Regions from separate parts of the Homo sapiens genome. Here regions 2 and 3 are each linked to region 1. The links are contacts of gene promoters, found by promoter capture Hi-C in human tissues and cell types (Jung and others, 2019). All regions are on one chromosome and are shown on one strand. The core of a region is centred on a gene start or on the middle of the fragment in contact, and the rest is flanking DNA. Distances in the headings are between cores, read along the strand shown. Region 1 holds the start of JMJD7 (jumonji domain containing 7). Region 2 overlaps MGA (MAX dimerization protein MGA). Region 3 overlaps MGA (MAX dimerization protein MGA).

The links. The method cuts DNA at HindIII sites, captures the fragments that hold promoters and counts their contacts. A contact is called where the count stands out against the background at its distance.
Region 2: a fragment that was not itself captured here is called in contact with the fragment with the promoter of JMJD7 in region 1 in 3 of the 25 tissues and cell types used here (H1 embryonic stem cells, lymphoblastoid cells and mesenchymal stem cells).
Region 3: a contact is called between a fragment that was not itself captured here and the fragment with the promoter of JMJD7 in region 1, in 3 of the 25 tissues and cell types used here (aorta, lymphoblastoid cells and mesenchymal stem cells).

What each region holds. Positions count from the first base shown.
Region 1 is chr15:41,826,751-41,829,412 of GRCh38, forward strand. JMJD7 (jumonji domain containing 7) reads left to right here and starts at 1,342. Exons shown (of 8, transcript NM_001114632.2): 1 at 1,342-1,438. The coding sequence starts at 1,375. It overlaps MAPKBP1 (mitogen-activated protein kinase binding protein 1), which reads left to right. Exons shown (of 31, transcript NM_014994.3): 31 at 1-1,105. It overlaps JMJD7-PLA2G4B (JMJD7-PLA2G4B readthrough), which reads left to right and starts at 1,342. Exons shown (of 25, transcript NM_005090.4): 1 at 1,342-1,438. The coding sequence starts at 1,375. RefSeq lists enhancers at 940-1,169, 1,201-1,495 and a silencer at 1,230-1,319. The HindIII fragment of the contact is 30,158 bases long and covers 1-2,662 here.
Region 2 is chr15:41,733,337-41,735,998 of GRCh38, forward strand. MGA (MAX dimerization protein MGA) reads left to right here. Exons shown (of 24, transcript NM_001400225.1): 12 at 1,186-1,258. Among named protein-coding and RNA genes, the nearest start is that of MAPKBP1, 40 kb to the right of the region's middle. The HindIII fragment of the contact is 3,107 bases long and covers 1-2,662 here.
Region 3 is chr15:41,755,883-41,758,544 of GRCh38, forward strand. MGA (MAX dimerization protein MGA) reads left to right here. Exons shown (of 24, transcript NM_001400225.1): 19 at 1,906-1,957. Among named protein-coding and RNA genes, the nearest start is that of MAPKBP1, 17 kb to the right of the region's middle. The HindIII fragment of the contact is 4,374 bases long and covers 1-2,662 here.

The DNA of each region.
Region 1 (2,662 bases), core at 92-2,591:
GGTAAGTGGCAGAGGTGAGGGGATAAGTTAGAATGTAAAAGGGCAGTAATTAGGGGTGAGGGAAAGGAGATAGGGGACCCTAGGAGGTAGAGTGGGACCATGTCGTGAGGCAGTTGAAGAGTTGAGGAAAGGTTTTTCTGGGCCCTACTGCTCCCCTCTGCTGCAGGTAAGTCAGAGCAGCTTTACCACAGCTTCAGGCCACGAGAGCCCCTTCACCCGCCCTGCTGCGCCATAGGCAGAGGCTTATAAAGAAATGGGTTCTGGGCCAGGTGTGGTGGCTCAAGCCTGTAATCCCAGCACTTTGGGAGGCCGAGGCGGGTGGATCACCTGAGGTTAGGAGTTCGAGATCAGCCTGGCCAACATGGTGAAACCCTGTCTACTAAAAATAAAAAAATTAGCTGGGCGTGGTGGTGGGCGCCTGTAATCCCAGCTACTCGGGAGGTTTAGGCAGGAGAATCGCTTGAACCCTGGAGGTGGAGGTGGAGGTTGCAGTGAGCCGAGATCGCGCCATTGCACTCCAACCTAGGTGACAAAGCTACACGCCATCTCAAAAAAAAAAAAGAAAAAGGGTTACAAAAGGTTCCCAGCTCCGGGGCATCAGCCTGAGTGCGCTTGAGCTGCTCCAAACCTGGCCCTTCCCCACTCCTCTAGCATCGCCACCCGCATGGCCCTGGAACTCCCGCGGCGGCGGGGGCGGGCCCGTGCCTGCTGTGCCCCGACTTCCCACACCAGCCGCGCCCACCGCAGGTGGGACTCAGGTTCGCCCTCTGGGCCAGGTCCTTCACGAGGAGGGAGCTACCCTTCGCCAGAAGTTTGTGAGAATGTGGCCGCCCTTTTCCTGCCCTCTGCCCCATGTGGGTGGGGGGCCTCGTGGCCCGGCCGGCGCCCCGTCCCCTTCTGCATGTCTGAGGCCACCGGCAACCGCCGCCCCACTCCAGATTTGCCCCCGCCTTGTTTTGAAAGCCCCTTATTTATAACTTTTATACTTTGTGCAGGTCGCGGCGCTTCCTGCCTCATCCTCGGCTGCATGGGGCGGGGGCGCTGTTTTTAACGTGCCCGTTTGTACTGATGTATGAACTTGTCAATAAACACAATTGTTTGTTAACCCTGGGATGCCGGCCAGTGGGGCAGGCCGAAGCGGGCGCTGCCAGTCGCTCCACCGCTTCGGTGGCAGAACCCGGTGTGTGTCCAGGGGCAGGACGGGGCGGGGTGCTGGGGGTGTGGCCTGCGGCGGGTGCCTCTGGAAGGGCGGGGCGAGGGTCTGGGGGTGTGGCCTGCGGCGGGGACTCTGGGGAGGGCGGGGCGAGTGCTTGGGGTGTGGCCTGCGGCGGGGCGTCGGGGAAAGGCGGGGTCTCGGCCGGCGCTGACGCAGCCATGGCGGAGGCGGCTTTGGAAGCCGTGCGGAGCGAGTTACGAGAATTCCCGGCCGCTGCAAGGGGTGAGTGGCTCTCCCACAGGCTGCGGCGATTTCCGAACACGGGAGGGGCCCTGGGATGCCGCTGACACCGGGGGCTCGGAACCTCGTGTGTGCGACTGCCCTGAGGCCCCGCTCGGGTTGCTCTTCTGTGGCAACCTGCTTCCCTTCTCCCGTGTTCGCGCGCTCCCGCGGCTTCCTGGGTGATTCTGTTCACGTTGTTCCCAAGGCCCGGTGCCGTCTTGACCGTGGTCGCGGCGAAGCCCTGTGTTTCCTACAGTCTTGAGCAGCTTGCTGTTACCCTTGTTGAAAGCTCATCGAAGGCACACAGCTGGTGGTCGGATTCCTCCCCCACGCGCCCCACCTCCGACCTCAACTCCCTTGTCGCACTTTGGGAGGATTGCAGGCTGACCAAATGGTCCCTGGCTCTTCCCCTGCTTGGTTTTTATTCCTTTTCTTTCTTTCTCTCTTCCCTCCTTCCTTCTTTTTTCTATTTTTAAATGATTTCTTACCACTGAACAGCAACACAGGCTCATGTGTATGTGATGGGTATGTAATATACAGTGGTACGCAATGTAAATGAAGCAAGGTTTCCTCCCAGCCCCAGTTTGCATTCTTACAGAAAGATTGTTTATATCCGTGCACACACGACTTTTTACCCTTTTTTTGTACAAATAGTAGCCTGCTAAACACACTCTTCTGCACCGTGTATCTTGGAGATCATTTCACATTCCTCTACCTCAGTCTTTTTCACGTCTGTGTGCTAGTGCTGTATTCACTTAGTCATTTAGGTCATGTCCAATCCGTTGTTTTCAATAATGCTGCAACGAATACTTTGAGGATTGATTTAACAAATACTTATTCAGCATCTCTGTGTGCCAGGCTCTGTTCAGTGTGTTTGAGATACATCACTGAACAAAACAAATCTGTCTTTTACAGTCTATGTCCTGTTACATTCTAAGTGAGAACGTGGACAATCAACCACAGGTGTACTGAATGAGTACATTGTAGAGTAGAAGAAGTAGGTTAGAAGGTAAGTGCAGGCAAAGCCCTCTTTGGGAGTATGCCTGATGTGTTTAGGAAACAGTGAAGAAGCCAGTCTGCAGGAGCAGCGTCTTCTGCGCATGTGTGAGTATGTTTGTTGGTTAAATACTTTATATTTTTTGAGACAGGGTCTTACTCTGTCACACAGGCTGGAGTGCAGTGGCACGATCATAGCTCGCTGCACCTCGACCTCCCAGGTTCAAG
Region 2 (2,662 bases), core at 120-2,619, 93 kb before region 1:
GAAAGTGGAATGATAAAAGAGTCTAGGTGGCAGTCTGTCCAACCCATGGAGGATTATATGAGAAACTGAGGCACACATTCACAGATAATTTAAATAATAAGTTCTGATTCCAGTTACCCTTGTAGTTAGGCTACACCTCTTCCCTTTCCATGGTTCAGCTGATGGCTGGGGGCTCCACCTTCGCTTGTACTGCCACCTCAACATCAGTGGTGACTCCCCGGAAAACCACTAAAGGTATAAATCAGCAGTTTTCTTTTAAACAGCAATTTGTTAATGACAAAAACAAAAAAATTTAAATGTGCATATCTTTTTGACCCTAAATTGTAAGTGTACATAGCATGAGGGCACAAAGATATGTGCATGTATGTATGTTTACTCAAACATACGCATATATATAGCTGTTCAGTGCACTATTGCCCTTACTAATGAGAAATTGGAGGCAGAATGCCTGTTAATAGAGGATTTGATAAATTAAAAAGTATTATTCTTTCTGATCCTGGAGTAATTTTAAAAATTCTAGTTTTATTAATTTGTCTGTAATTATTAGGGTGTGCATCTTTCCACATTGGCAAATTTTGTTTCTTTCTTTTTTTTTTCGAGATAGGGCCTCACTCTGTCACCCAGGCTGAAGTGCAGTGGCATGGTCTCGGCTCACTGCAACCTTCAGCTCAAGCGATCCTTCTGTCTCAGCCTCCCAACCAACTGGGACTATAGGTGTGTGCCACCATTTGTGGCTAAGCTTTTGTATTTTTGGTATAGATGGGGTTTTGCCTTGTTGGCCAGGCTGGTTTGAACTCCTGGGCTCAAGTGATCTTCCCACCTCGGCCTCTCGGAATGCTGGGATTGCAGGCATGAGCCACCGAGACTGGCCTCAACTGGTGAATTTTCTGAATAACTGTAGTTTGTTTCATTTAACAGTAAATATGTTTCCCTCTTTAAAGTACAATGTGAATTTTTTTCTTGATGACTCAGTCACTATCAAGGACATTAGGTAGCAAAACTATGTGTTTTTACCCAGGGTTTTATATGATAGTAACGTAGATGTGCATGTGGATTGAAGCTGTTGACATTTCAGTCATTCTAATGATTTAAACTTCTGTGAGAGATTTAATGCTTGTGTCCAAGTTTCTGTGGGTATTGAATATATGTTAAGTTAAAGTATTTCTGTGTTACTGTCTCCTTCAGGAACCTGATTCTGAACAGCAGCCCTTAAAACAACTCACCTGTGACTTGGAGGATGATTCTGATAAATTACAAGGTCAGAATGAAAACTAGATCTTAACATTTGATAAAAATTATTTAGGTCTAGATTATAGTAATAATGGGAGAAAACCCAAACCATCAATTCAGAATATGTCTGCCTACCCTGTTTCAAACTTATGCCAAAAACAGGGACAATAAGTAAAAGTTTTTTTTCCCCATTATTTGGTCTGTTAACACTCCTGCTCTCAAAAATAAAAGAAAATTCATTCATGTTGATAAAGCATGTTGTTGCAAGAGACATTTAGGTTGAGGTCAGTGAGTTTTTTTTTTTTTAACCTCTTTCCAAACCCCAGTAATATTGGCATCATTAGCCTTTGGTCCTCCATCACTGCCACCTCTGGGGAAATCTAGAAGGAGAAAGGAAGGAATATTACTGTGATTTAGCTGGCAGAGGCTACTGTCAGAATTACTTTGATGACAGGTAGTGGTCAGGTGGTTACCAATTTGTTTTTGGTTATGCTTCCCGAGACTTCTGACACTTAAGCAGCAGGGCTTCCTAACTTCTTAAAAAACGTCATGGTACATACAAATAATTAACAATGTTTCTATAGCACATTGCGGTAAGTGGAGGAGGCTACTAGGGTGGAGGGAACCTGCCTGAGAGCGTGAGCACCCTGAGGATTATGGGGGCCCTTGACATACCAGTACACTCATTGGGAAGCTGTGCTAAAGAAATCCAGGAGTCTAGTGAAATACATGTCTAGTCAACATGTTGCCATGGAAAGAATACTTTGGGTAGTTGAGTGATCTGCAAACAGTGTAGAAATGGAGCAATCATATCTAGAAGCACAGAAGTAATTCAGAGGTATTTGCAGTAGAAATTAGAGTTAGAGTGCACTTAAAATCAGAATACTACAGCTGGGCGCAGTGGCTCACGCCTGTAATCCCAGCACTTTGGGAGGCCGAGGCGGGTGGATCATGAGGTCAAGAGATCCAAGACCATCCTGGCCAACATGGTGAAACCCCGTCTCTAGTAAAAATACAAAAATTAACTGGGCGTGGTGGCACGCGTCCATAATCTCAGCTACTCGGGAGGCTGAGGCAGGAGAACCACTTGAACCTGGGAGGCAGAGGTTGCAGTGAGCTATCACGCCTCTGCACTCCAGCCTGGCGACAGAGCTAGACTCCGTCTCAAAAAAAAAAAAAAATCAGAATACTATTTTTCTTGCTGTTCTTTTGGATTGACTCTAATCTGTACATGTTTCAAAGCATCTAGCAAGTAGTTTCACTTTGCCTGTATGTATAGCAAAATAGTAACCTATACCAGTGAAGCTTAACCTTGGTTGTAGGTCATGGTTTGTTTGCAAGCTAACTCTAATGTAATAATTGTGGCATTTAGAGTAGTGTTAAGGGAACTACCTGTTAGAGCCCAGTCAGCAGGATAATGAGGACTATTGTA
Region 3 (2,662 bases), core at 46-2,545, 71 kb before region 1:
TTGGCACACGCCTGTAGTCCCAGCTACTCGGGAGGCTAAGGCAGGAGGATTGCTTGAACCTGGGAGGTGGAGGTTGCAGTGAGCTGAGACTGTGCCACTGTACTCCAGCCTGAGACACAGTGAGACTCCATCTCAAAAAAAAAAATTAAAGATTTAATTAGATTTGTTTAAATTAATTGTTTAAATTTAATTAAAAATACAAGTTAAAAGAATTGAAAAATTCTGTCAGAACACCGTGAAAACAGTGAAAAGCCAAACTCAGATATGAAGAAAGTGTTTGCCATACGTATTAACTAACAAAGGATTAGTGTCAAGGGTATAAAAAAATTGTTACAAGTCAGTAAGAAAAAGATGACCCAGTAGAAAAGTAATGGATATTAGAGACAGTTGACAGAAGAAGAAGAAACCTAAAAGCCCAGCAAACACATGTACATTTGTTCAGCCTCACAAGTAATTAAGGAAATACAGATAAAACCACAGTGACTTTACCAATTCACACCCATAAGACTTCAAAAGTGGAGATTTCTGGTGGTACAGTTATCTAGGTGTGGAGCAATGGGAACTCGCATACTGCAAGTGGGAGTGTACATTGTTATTACCAGTTTAACAGTTACTGAAGTTGAAGGTGTGCATATCTTTCCTCTGCTCCTATGCCCCAGAAAAATTTTCACAAGGGGTCGTGTATGGGACTGTCCATTGCAGCATTGTTTGCTATTATGAAGATTTAGAAACAACCTAAATAACTACTAACATTCTGAAAAAAAAATTCGGGGAAATTCACATTGTGGAATACTATATAACTATATAACAATTAAAACAATTGGAATTGGAACTCTGCGTATCAACATATCTCAGGTGTAATTTATTTGTACTTTTATTTTCGATATTTTTTGTAGAGACGGAGTCTTGCTATGTTGGCCAGGCTAATTTTGAACTCCTGGCCTCAACCAGTCCTCGTGCCTTGGCCTCCTAAAGTTCTGGGATTACAGGCATTAGCTACTGTGCCTGGCCTTCAGGTGGAATATTGAATGAAACAAATGAGTTGCAGAAAGATATAGTATAGTATATAATATTTAAAGTGGTACTTTTTTTGTTTAGATATATATATATATATTTCTAGTAAGACTTACAAAAGTGTGCATGGTAAACTCTGTCTTAGAATGGTTACTTTTGAGAAGGAAGGAAGGGAATGTGATTGAGTAGACTGCACATAGAACCTTCTGTATTTTTGAGATGTATTATTTCTCAAGCTAGATGGTTCATATGTGGGTGTTCATTATACGCTTGGTCCTCCTTCACGGATGGGAAGACCAAGTTTATAATGGAAAAGCATGTATCCACAAATATAGAAAGCATGTATTTGTGGATTCACCCAACTGTGGATTGGAAATACTTGGAAGAAGAAAAATTGCATCTGTATTGAACATGTATAGACTTTATTTTCATGTCATTATTCCCTAAACAATACAGTATAACAACTGTTTACTTAGTTTTTACATTGTACTAGGTGTTATAAGTAATGTAGGGATGATTTATAGTATACAGGAGGAGGTGCCTATGTTATATGCAAATACTATGCCATTTTATATCAGGGACTTGAGTATTCAAAGATACTGCTGGAAGTTTTGGAACGAGTCTTCCCTGGATACTGAAGGACAACTTTAAATTTGTTTATATGGTTTTGTATATTAAATATTTCATGATTGTACAAAGTAATTTGAAGTTTTAGTGACTATTTGTACACTTTTAGAGAAAATATATAATGTCAAGTAAATAATGTGGCCATATATCACACCTTGGGAAAAAGAAACTGGTTGTAATTTGGAATGGTTTGGTTGTAGCTGTGAAATAGGTCTTAGATTATTAAATTTCAGTAAGACACTGAAAAATCCTGTCTTTATCCAGGTCCTGTACTCACATCTCTGCAGATGAAAAAGCAGCTGAAAGGAGTCGAAAGGTATTTAGGATATATTTAGTGATAATTACTCATTGAATAAAATTGTTAACATTTATCTTAGGGTTGAAACAACATTAGCTATATTAGCCACGATTTTTTCTCAGGGCTATTTTTGCCAGTGAGTTAATATAATCAGTTTTTTCTCCTTAATCAAATTATACTGCTAATGTCCTTTTTTTCCCTTTTAATTCTTCTCCTCAGAGGATAGACTAATGTAGAGGAGTTAAAAATGGATATGAAATTTATGAGAATATATGTGGTTATTTGAAAACTGTTCTTGTAATGGTCTGATGTAAAACAAGGTGCCATTCTTTCTTGCTTGGGCTCATGATTTTAAGTGATTTAAAAAACTATGCTCTGCAAAATGGCTAGCAGTTAGGGATCCATGAAAAAATAAACCTTTAATTTTCTTAATCTTTTTGGTTTATATCATAGTAACATAATTAAGCAGGGTTTTTTGTTTATCCTAACCAACAGTAGGCATGGAGGAGAGTTTGGTTTGTTTAAATTGTTTTCCACTTGTTTTTCTATCTTAATTTAAAAGATTAAAAAAAGACAATGATGGGGGTTGGGTTGAAGTAGAGGGTGGCATTTGGTTCCTTTAAAAAATCATAGTGCAGTTTGTTTGGTTTTGATCTGATTTGGGACTTATATGATACAGCGTATTTGCATGGTTGTAATTATTTGCATATATCATTATATTTG